2 separate regions of the Homo sapiens genome follow, and region 2 is linked to region 1. The links are contacts of gene promoters, found by promoter capture Hi-C in human tissues and cell types (Jung and others, 2019). All regions are on one chromosome and are shown on one strand. The core of a region is centred on a gene start or on the middle of the fragment in contact, and the rest is flanking DNA. Distances in the headings are between cores, read along the strand shown. Region 1 holds the start of RCVRN (recoverin). Region 2 overlaps GAS7 (growth arrest specific 7).

Region 1 (4,719 bases), core at 814-3,313:
TTTGCCTAGGTTTCTAAATTTCATGAGTTACTTTTATATCAGATAAACCATTTTCAAGACACCTACGAGGTTAGTGGAAAAGTAATTATGGTTTTTGCCATTACTTTCACAACAAAGGATCTGACAGGAGGACAGTATGGACAGGGGAGAAGGCGTGTTGGGAACCATATGGAAGCCTGTGCGCCTCACAGGGAAACTGTCAGGAGCCGGGGAGCCACGCCGCGCGTGGGAAGCGGGGGCTCATGCGTGGTGCCATGATCCGCCCCGCGCTGGGGAGAACATGAGGACTAGAACTCAGAGTTCATGCCCCCAACTTTGACCTCTTTCTACTTTATATTAGAAGCATATTGTGTGTTTAGAATGAACAGTGATTCAACTTGAATGTGTACTGCTGAAAATTTCAAAGGACATTTTAATAAAGGAAGGAAGAAACAAAGGATGGAGAGAAAGAAAAAATGTAAATATAGTCACGTGTCGCTCAGAGACAGGAATACATTCCGAGAAACACATCTTAAGGCAACTTCTATGTGGGAACATCATAGAGCATCCTTGCACGAACACAGATGGTAGAGCCGACTACATCCCTGAGCTCCATGGTCCAGCCTTTTGCTCCTAGGCTACAAACCTGTGCAGCACGTGACTGTCCTGAATGTTGCAGGCAGTTGTCACACGATGGTAAGTATTTGTGCATCTAAACATAGCTAAACATAGAAATCATGCAGTAAAAATACAGTATAAAGATAAAAAATGGGCCGGGCACAGTGGCTCATGCCTGTAAATCCCAGCACTTTGGGAGGCTGAGGCTGGCGGATCGCTGGAGGTCGGGAGTTTGAGACCAGCCTGACCAACATGGTGAAACCCCGTCTCTACTAAAAATACAAAAATTAGCTAGGCATAGTGGTGCACACCTGTAATCCCAGCTACTCGGGAGGCTGAGACAGGAGAATTGCTTGAACTCGGGAGGCAGAGGTTGCAGTGAGCCAAGATCGCACTATTGCACTCCAGCTCTGGGCTACAGAGTGAGACTCCATCTCAAAAAAATAAAAAATAAAAAACCAAGATACAAAATGGTAGACCTGTCTAGGGCACTCACCATGAGTGGAGCTTGCAGGACTGGGAGTTGCTCTGGGTGAGTCAGTGAGTGAGTAGTGAGTGAATGTGAAGAACTAGGACATTACCGTACACAACTACAGACTTTACGGATACACTTAGGCTACACTAAATGCATTTGAAAAATAAAGTAACTGTGCTATGACGTCACTAGGCAGTAGGAATTTTTCAGCTCCATTACAATCTTATGGGACCACAGTGGTCTATATCGTCCGTTGTTGACCCAAACATCGTGAAGCCAAGCATAACATGGCTGTATTAGGAAACACTCAGATTCTGCTCCGGGAAGACAACGAAGCTGTGGGCAAGTGCCCACCCCTCTATCAATATCAGCATCTCGGAGCACCACGCTCTCAGAGCCAGTGGCCCGCATCCCCCGCTCCACCCACAGATCCACTCCCTCTGCAGCAGCTGCAGCAGGGGACCCCCAGCCCGGAGCGACCCCGGCACCGCCCAGCCAGAAGGGGAGAGGGGAGACTGACCATGACGATCTCCAGCACTTCATTCTTGCTGATGGTCCCGTTACCGTCCACGTCGTAGAGGGAGAAGGCCCACTCCAGCTTCTGGTTGGTCTTGCCCGCGGTGGTCATGTGCAGGGCGATGACGTACTCCTTGAAGTCCAGGGTGCCGTCGAGGTTGGAATCGAAGCTGCGGAACACATGCTGGGCGTAGGCCTTGGGGTCGGTGTCGGGGAAGAACTTGGCGTAGATGCTCTGGAACTGCTGCTGGGTGATGCGGCCGGTGGGACAGTCCTTCAGGAAGGACTGGTACCAGGAGCACAGCTCCTCCTCCGAGAACTTGGTGTTCAGCTGCAGCTCCTCCAGGATCTCCTTGGACAGGGCCCCACTTTTGCTGTTCCCCATGAGTGAGGAAGAGTGGGCAGCGGCTGGGGAGTCGCTGGGTGGGTGGGACGTGCGTGGTCCCCTGGCCGCAGGCTGGGCTCAAGGCTGGTGTGAGCTGAAGACCGAGATGCTGGTGGCTTAGGAGGATTTGCGACCAGTTCTTCGCAATCCTTGAAGGGAGGAGGGGCCCAGGAGCTTTGTGGAGGGCGGGAGCGGTGGGGGGGGGTGCTCCCAGAACCCTAGTGAGATTAAAATAAAGAGCCCAGGGCAGGCAGGCAATTCATCTCGGCCTCCCGGGACGATACTAGAACAGGACAGGAGGTTGGAACCCTCAGAGCTGGGGCCTCCGGCACCCCCAGCCCCAGCCCTCTAACAGCAGCCATGTTCCCTGTTTCTCTTCCTCACTAACTCTGAGCATCTCGGGGCGGGGCTGGCATCTCATATCAAGCCCTAGAATGCAATGGTTAGGAGCACAGACTCTGGGGCCAGCATGGGTTCAAGTCCCAGCTTGGCTACTTAACTAGCTGTGTGGCCCCAGGCTTGTTTCTTCACCTCTTTCCACCTGGGACACTCTTCTAAACCTTCACTGCAGTCATGTCTCTGCTTAAATGTCACCTGCTCAGCCAGGCCTATACTGACCCTCTATCTATAATAGCACAACCCCCACCATCATCGGCACGCTGCATGTCCCCTCACCGGAATGAAAGCTCCGTGAAGGATGGGATTTTGTCTGTGTTGTTCCCGGATGCATTTCCATTGCCAGAACCTGATAGGCTTGGGCCCCCAGCAAGTCTTTCTTGAATAAATGGGCATCATAGCATCTACCACACTGTCATTGTGAGGCTGATGTGAGTCAATATGTCTGACACACTTAGAAACTGGCACATGGCTAATGCTAAACACTCGTTTTGTTATTGTCCATCAGTCACAGGGAGTGAAGGTGAACTGCCTGAAGGGACCAGCAGGGGGCAGCCAGGCCTGTGTCACCTCGGGAAGGGGCTGCCAGAGAACGTGGTCACATGGGATGGTGAGATTTTTGGGTTTTTTTAAATTATTCAAGAGAAATCCAAAAATCAGAATTTTTCTTGCAATTTCCACACTTTTCAACTTTGGCAATTAATTCAAAATTTTAATGGTGGCTCACGTCTGTAATCCCAGCACTTTGGGAGACTGAGTGGGGAGATTACAAGGTTAGGAGTTCGAGACCAGCCTGGCCAACATGGTGAAACCCTGTCTCTACTAAAAATACAAAAAATTAGCCGGGCATGGTGGCAGGTGACTGTAATCCCAGCTACTTGGGAGGCTGAGGCTGGAGAATCGCTTGAACCCGGGAGGCAGAGGTTGCAGTGAGCCGAGATTGCACCATTGCACTCCAGCCTGGGTGACAAGTGTGAGACTCCATCTCAAAAAAACAAAACAAAAACAAAAACAAAAACAAAACAAAACATGGTGTGGGCCAAACACAATCTATCTGTGGGTCCATGGCAGGCTGCAGGGTGTCCGTCTGCAGTGGACTTGGAGTGAGCAGGCAAGAAAACGTGTTTGCTGAGTGAATGGATAAATAACTGAGTGGTCAGAGACGGAGCTGTGCAAAGGCAGGCTTCGCGTCTGTGCAGCTCAGCGGGGAGTATCAAGCACGAGGAAGCAACCTAGTGAGGACGCTGCACACCTGGATTCTTGTCACCCAGAAGGAAGGGAGGGTGGGCGTGCACTTTCCTTAGCGGAGCGCAGTGCTCGAGGGGACACACTCAGAACCCCAGCCTTGCCACCGTGGATGGAGAGTTGTCTCTTTTTGCCCTGGGGTGAGAATGATGAAGAATAAACCCCACGGTCTCCAGGCAGGTAAACTGGTTTTTTTTTAGACGGAGTCTCCCTCTGTCACTTAGGCTGGGCACGATCTTGGCTCACTGCAACCTCCGCCTCCTGGTTTCAAGCAATTCTCCTGTCTCAGTCCCCTGAGAAGCTGGGACTACAGGTGTCTGCCACCACGCCCAGCTAATTTTTTTTTGGTATTTTTAGTAGAGTCGAGGTTTCACCATATTGGTCAGGCTGGTCTCGTAAACTCCTGACCTCAGGTGATCCGCCCGCCTTGCATCTCAAAGTGTAAAGTGGGGATTTTAGCCTACTTACTAACAGGCTAGTGGCAGCAGAAGGTAGGTCCCTGCTGCTGGGAGAAAGCCACCTGCCAGGCCCACCTCATGTCACTCTGGAAGGACCGAGAGGTTCAGGCACCAAGGGGCAGACTCATCCCTCCCAGCCGCTCTGCCCAGTACAGTTTCAGAGATTTCTCAGGAAACCTGCATATTGGGGTGTGTGTGTGAACTTTCTAATTTTTTTCCATCACTTTGTGAGTTTTTTTTTTTTTGTTTGTTTGTTTTTTTTGTTTTTTTTTTTTTAAGACAGAGCCTCATTCTGCGCCCAGGCTGGAGTGCAATGGCACGATCTCGGCTCACTGCAACCTCTGCCTCCCAGGTTCAAGCGATTTTCCTGCCTCAGCCTCCCAAGTAGCTGGGATTACAGGCGCTCACCACCATGCCCAGCTAATTTTTGTGTTTTTAGCAGAGATGGGATTTCACCTTGTTGGTCAGGCCGGTCTCGATCCCCTGACCTCATGATCTGCCTGCTTTGGCCTCCCCAAGTGCTGGGATTACAGGCATGAGCCACTGCGCCCAGTGAGAATATTACTTCTGAATAGGAGTCCTTCCTCTCCTAGGCTTTCACCATCCTGTAGCGTGCATTTATTCTCAAGAGCAGTTAGAAACAGGAC
Region 2 (5,078 bases), core at 2,231-4,730, 110 kb after region 1:
TTCATATAAACAGAATCATATGGCACACGGCTTTTTGTGTCTAGCTTCTTTGACTTACTGTGATGTTTTCAAGGTTCATCCACGTTGTAGCATGTATCAGCCAGCACCTTCATTCCTTTTTATGGCTGAATAATATACCATTGTATGGCTAAAACCACATTTTGTTTATCCATTCATCAGTTGATGGGCATTTTGGTTGCTGCTGGCCATAATAAATAATGCTCCTCTGAACTGAGCATGCATGCACACTTTTTGTGTGGACGTGTGTTTCTAATTTTCTTGGGTATACAGCTAGGAGTGGAATATTCTGGGTCACTGAATATTCTAGAAGATTTCTGGATCCTATTCTACACATTTGTTTTTGTTCCACTTCCATATCTGAACCACATGCTGCTAATCACTGACTCCAGCTAACAGACAGTGAGGAACGCTCTCACACTGTTTACCAGTAAACAGTCTTGCAAAGTAACTCAACTTCCTAGAATAGAGCAAACAACAAAATCTGTCTCTTTTGTCTTTTTACTTGTGTGGGTCTTCAACTTCATACTAGCAGTGTGACTGACTTTAAGCCACTTGGCATTTGCCACAAATGGGAGATTATTGGCCTTAAACACTGGTGAAAAATGAGGGGTGTGTTATGCACGTAAGTATTACCTAAACATTACATGTTAGAACGGATATCCTGGAAGAGAAAACAAAACCCACACCAAAGCGGATTAATAGGAAGCTTTAAGCTCTAACAGCCTTCCACTAAGAATCCATTAAAGAAAAATAATAAAGCCAAAATTAGGCTTTATATAAATTAGGCTGGCGCTCTCTCTCTCTCTCTCTCACACACACACGCACACACGCACACGCACGCAACCCTAATTTAATCAACCAAATGTACCACATGCACATCTTTTTAGTCTCACATTTGCTCAACACAGATGGACAGAAAAAAATAGATGTATGTTTTTGGGTACAGAACCTTCTCAGAGGAACTTTTATTAACACGGAATTATCAGGGCCATTCATTCTATTTGGGGAGTTAGAAAAGGATCCAATTATTTGTAACAAAGAAAAGTTAAAAGTGTTCTACTGGGGCCGGGCGCGGTGGCTCACGCCTGTAATCCCAGCACTTTGGGAGGCCGAGGCGGGCGGATCACGAGGTCAGGAGATCGAGACCATCCCGGCTAAAACGGTGAAACCCCGTCTCTACTAAAAATACAAAAAAATTAGCCGGGCGTAGTGGCGGGCGCCTGTAGTCCCAGCTACTTGGGAGGCTGAGGCAGGAGAATGGCGTGAACCCGGGAGGCGGAGCTTGCAGTGAGCCGAGATCCCGCCACTGCACTCCAGTCTGGGCGACAGAGCGAGACTCCGTCAAAAAAAAAAAAAAAAAAGTGTTCTACTGGAAAACTTATCCAGAAACTCACATTAGTTCCTGGCATAATAAAGTTAAATGGGAATCCACTCATTTAAAGAAAAATTAAAGCAAGAAATCAAGAAAATTACTATTTGGCAAAGGAATCCAAAAGCTCACATCCTGGTTTAGTCCTCCAAGCTTCGCTCACAAACATAACACATTTATAGATATAGATCTATAAATCTATAGAGCTTAAAAGCCTGAGTGTGGTACTCATGCCTGTAATCCCAACATTTTGGGAGGCCAAGATAGGAGGATTGCTTGAGCCCGGAGTTCAAGACCAGCCTGGGCAATATAGCAAGACCCCTTCTCAAAAAAAAAAAAAAAAAACCAAACAAAAAATAAAACACTTTTTTTTTTCCAGTAGCCTGGTGTGGTGACATATGCCCATGGTCCCAGCTACTTGGAAGGCTAAGGTGGAAGGATTACTTGAGCCCAGGAAGTCAACTAAAAAAATAAAATAAAATAAAAAAGCTTAAAAACAATTTTCAACTCTCCTGGACTTGGGTTCATGCTTTAAAAAGATGCATAGGTTTCCCTTAAAAAATTGTTATTTCAGATTATTTTTCTTTATCTACTAATCCACAAACTCAGTTATTCTCATTCCAACTTAAGTCACTGCCACCCATGCCCATTCCTCCAAATACTGAGGCAAAAAAGAAAAGATTAGAAGACTGGGCAGTCTGGTCACAGCTTGGCTTATAAATGACCAGATAGCTTGGATCAAGTCCCTTTACCATGCAGGGACTTCATTTCTATATATGTAAAACAAACAGGTTCTATTTCTTTTTTTTTTTCTTTCTTTTTTGGGGGGGCGTCTCCCTCTGTTGCCCAGGCTGGAGTGCAGTGGCGTGATCTTGGCTCACTGCAAGCTCCACCTCCTGGGTTCACGCCATTCTCCTGCCTCAGCCTCCCGAGTAGCTGGGACTTACAGGCACCCGCCACCACGCCGGGCTAAATTTTTGTGTTTTTTTAGTAGAGACAGGGTTTCACCGTGTTAGCCAGGATGGTCTTGATCTCCTGACCTGGTGATCCGCCCGCCTCAGCCTCCCAAAGTGCTGGGTTTACAGGCATGAGCCACCGCGCCCAGCCTGATTCTATTTCTTAAACCAGGTATTGTCAAACTTTTTCTGTTAAGGGTCAGAGAGTAAATATTTTCACTTTGTGAGCCACGTGGTCTCTGCTGCAACTACAGATACCCTCAACTTATGACAGGGCTATATACTGAGAAACCCATTGTAACTTGCAAATATTGTATGTCAAAAATGCATGTATTACACCTAAACTACTGAATACTATAGCTTCGCCTCACCTACCTTAGACGTGCCCAGAACACTTCCGTTAGCCTACAGTTGGGCAAAATCATCTATCATAAAGCCTATTTTGTAGTGAAGTGTTATACATCTCTTGTAATTTATTGAATACTGAACTAAAGTACAGTTTCTAGTGAATGAGTATCACTTTTACACCAAGTCAGATCGTTAAGTCCAACCATTTTAAGTTGGAGACAGCTTGTACTCAGCTCTACAATCTCCGTGCAAAACCAGCCATAGACAATATGTAAACAAAAGGGCATGGCTGTGTTCCAATAAAGAAAGCTTCATTTACAAAAACAGCTGTGAGTTGAATTTGGCCCATAGGCCACAGTTTGCCAACCCCTGAGTTAGAGGATTTAGAAGTTTCCTCCTAGGATGATTATGAAGCAAAATCACTAGCCTCTGCAACCCACTTTTATGAAAGATCAAGTTATCAAGGTCTGAGGGTGGAAACAGATGTTCACCACAGCACTCAGTTCTAGGAGAGTCTCTGCCTAGGGACACAGGCACTGGACTCTTCATAGTTCCATCAACAGCCACCTTCTGTTTTGCTTGGTACCTCACTCATGCTCTGCTGACCACTGCCTTGGGCTTGGATGAAGCATCACTCTGCATGGTGGAATCTGGCTTTCTGAGAGCTTGGTAGGAGTCAGATGGTACAAACCAAATGTGTAGGGAAATAGCTGTGCAAGGGGAGGGGCTTGGCCAGTGTGAAATAGGAGACAAGACAGAGGTGAGTAGATAAAACATCTCTGCTTTCCTGCAGACTACTCCAGGCTACGGCTCCTCCTTGCAGCCCTTCCAGAAGTGAACATATCCACTAAGTGACCGGCTGGGACTCTGCATTTCACTGTCAAACACCAGCCAGCATCACTTGGCATTGTTCTTTGGCTTTCCTTCCCTTGCATACCTACCCTCACCACTTTGTACTGATACCTCCTAAATAAGGTGTTAACACTCAATCCTTGCATCAGGCTCTGCTTTATAGTGGGGGAGAAAGGGTTAAGATACCATCTCAAGGCCGGGTGCGGTGGCTCATGCCTGTAATCCCAGCACTTTGGGAGGCCGAGGCGGGTGGATCACCTGAGGTCGGAAGTTCGAGACCAGCCTGACCAACATGGAGAAACCCCGTCTCTACTAAAAATACAAAATTAGCCAGGCGTGGTGGCACATGCCTGTGGTCCCAGCTACTAGGGAGGCTGAGGCAGGAGAATCGCTTGAACCTGGGAGGTGGAGGTTGTGTGGGCCGAGATTGCACCATTGCACTCCAGCTTGGGCAACAAGAGTGAAACTCCATCTCAAAAAAAAAAAAAACAAAAGATACCATCTCAAATGGTACTCTTTGTTTAAAAAAAAAGAATGGCACAGATAAAACTACTGGATTTAGAGTATAAAAAGATTAATAAATAAGAAGTAAAATCTTGACTAATACATTAAACTAAACTAATCTTGGCCATCTATCTATACTGGCTTCAAATATCCCTAATGTCCAAATGGTAAAATGTATCCTAAACATATCTAAAAGGTCAGCATCTCTCCAAAAAGAGGGCCTGAATACCTATGACTATATTAAGTGAAGAAGCATGCATGCCTGGCCTTCCAGTTATATTTTTATTTTATTTATTTATTTGAGACAGTGGCTTGCTCTGTCACCCAGGCTGGAGAGCAATGGTGTGATTTCGGTTCATTGCAACCTCTGCCTCCTGGGCTCAAGTGATCCTTCCACCTCAGCCTCCCAAGTAGCTGGGACTACAGGTGTGCGCCACCACACCCGGCTAATTTTTGTATTTTTAATAGAGACGGGGTTTCACCATGGTCCCCAGGCTGGTCTTGAGCTCCTGGGCTCAAGTGATCTGCCCACCTCGGCTTCCCAAAGTGCTGGATTACAGGTGAGAGCCACCACACCCAGCCGACCTTTCAATCATAAATGGAGCAAAAAATGTTGTGCTATATCTCTTGAAATATAATTATTTGTTGTATAAATAAGAGGTCCCTGTCGTGGTCTGAATGTTTGTGTCCCCTCCAAATTCACGTGTTGAAACCTAATTCCCCATGTGCCAGTATGAAGCGGCGGCACTTTTAGGAGGTGACTAAGTCATGCAGGCTCCACCATCATGGGGTTAGTGCCATTAAAAGAGAAACCCAGGCAGGGCGCGGTGGCTCACGCCTGTAATCCCAGCACCTTGGGAGGCCGAGGCAGGTGAATCACGAGATCAGGAGATCGAGACCATCCTGGCTAACACTGTGAAACCCCGTCTCTACTAAAAAATACAAAAAATTAGCCGGGCGTGGTGGCGGGCACTTATAGTTCCAGCTACTCGGGAGGCCGAGGCAGGAGAATCGCTTGAATCCAGGAG

Evidence for each region. The method cuts DNA at HindIII sites, captures the fragments that hold promoters and counts their contacts. A contact is called where the count stands out against the background at its distance.
Region 2: a contact is called between a fragment that was not itself captured here and the fragment with the promoter of RCVRN in region 1, in 3 of the 25 tissues and cell types used here (bladder, dorsolateral prefrontal cortex and thymus).

Annotation. Positions count from the first base shown.
Region 1 is chr17:9,903,208-9,907,926 of GRCh38, forward strand. RCVRN (recoverin) reads right to left here and starts at 2,064. Exons shown (of 3, transcript NM_002903.3): 1 at 1,593-2,064. The coding sequence starts at 1,973. The HindIII fragment of the contact is 14,018 bases long and covers 1-4,719 here.
Region 2 is chr17:10,007,955-10,013,032 of GRCh38, forward strand. All of the region lies in intron 2 of GAS7 (growth arrest specific 7), which reads right to left. Among named protein-coding and RNA genes, the nearest start is that of RCVRN, 110 kb to the left of the region's middle. The HindIII fragment of the contact is 7,446 bases long and covers 1-5,078 here.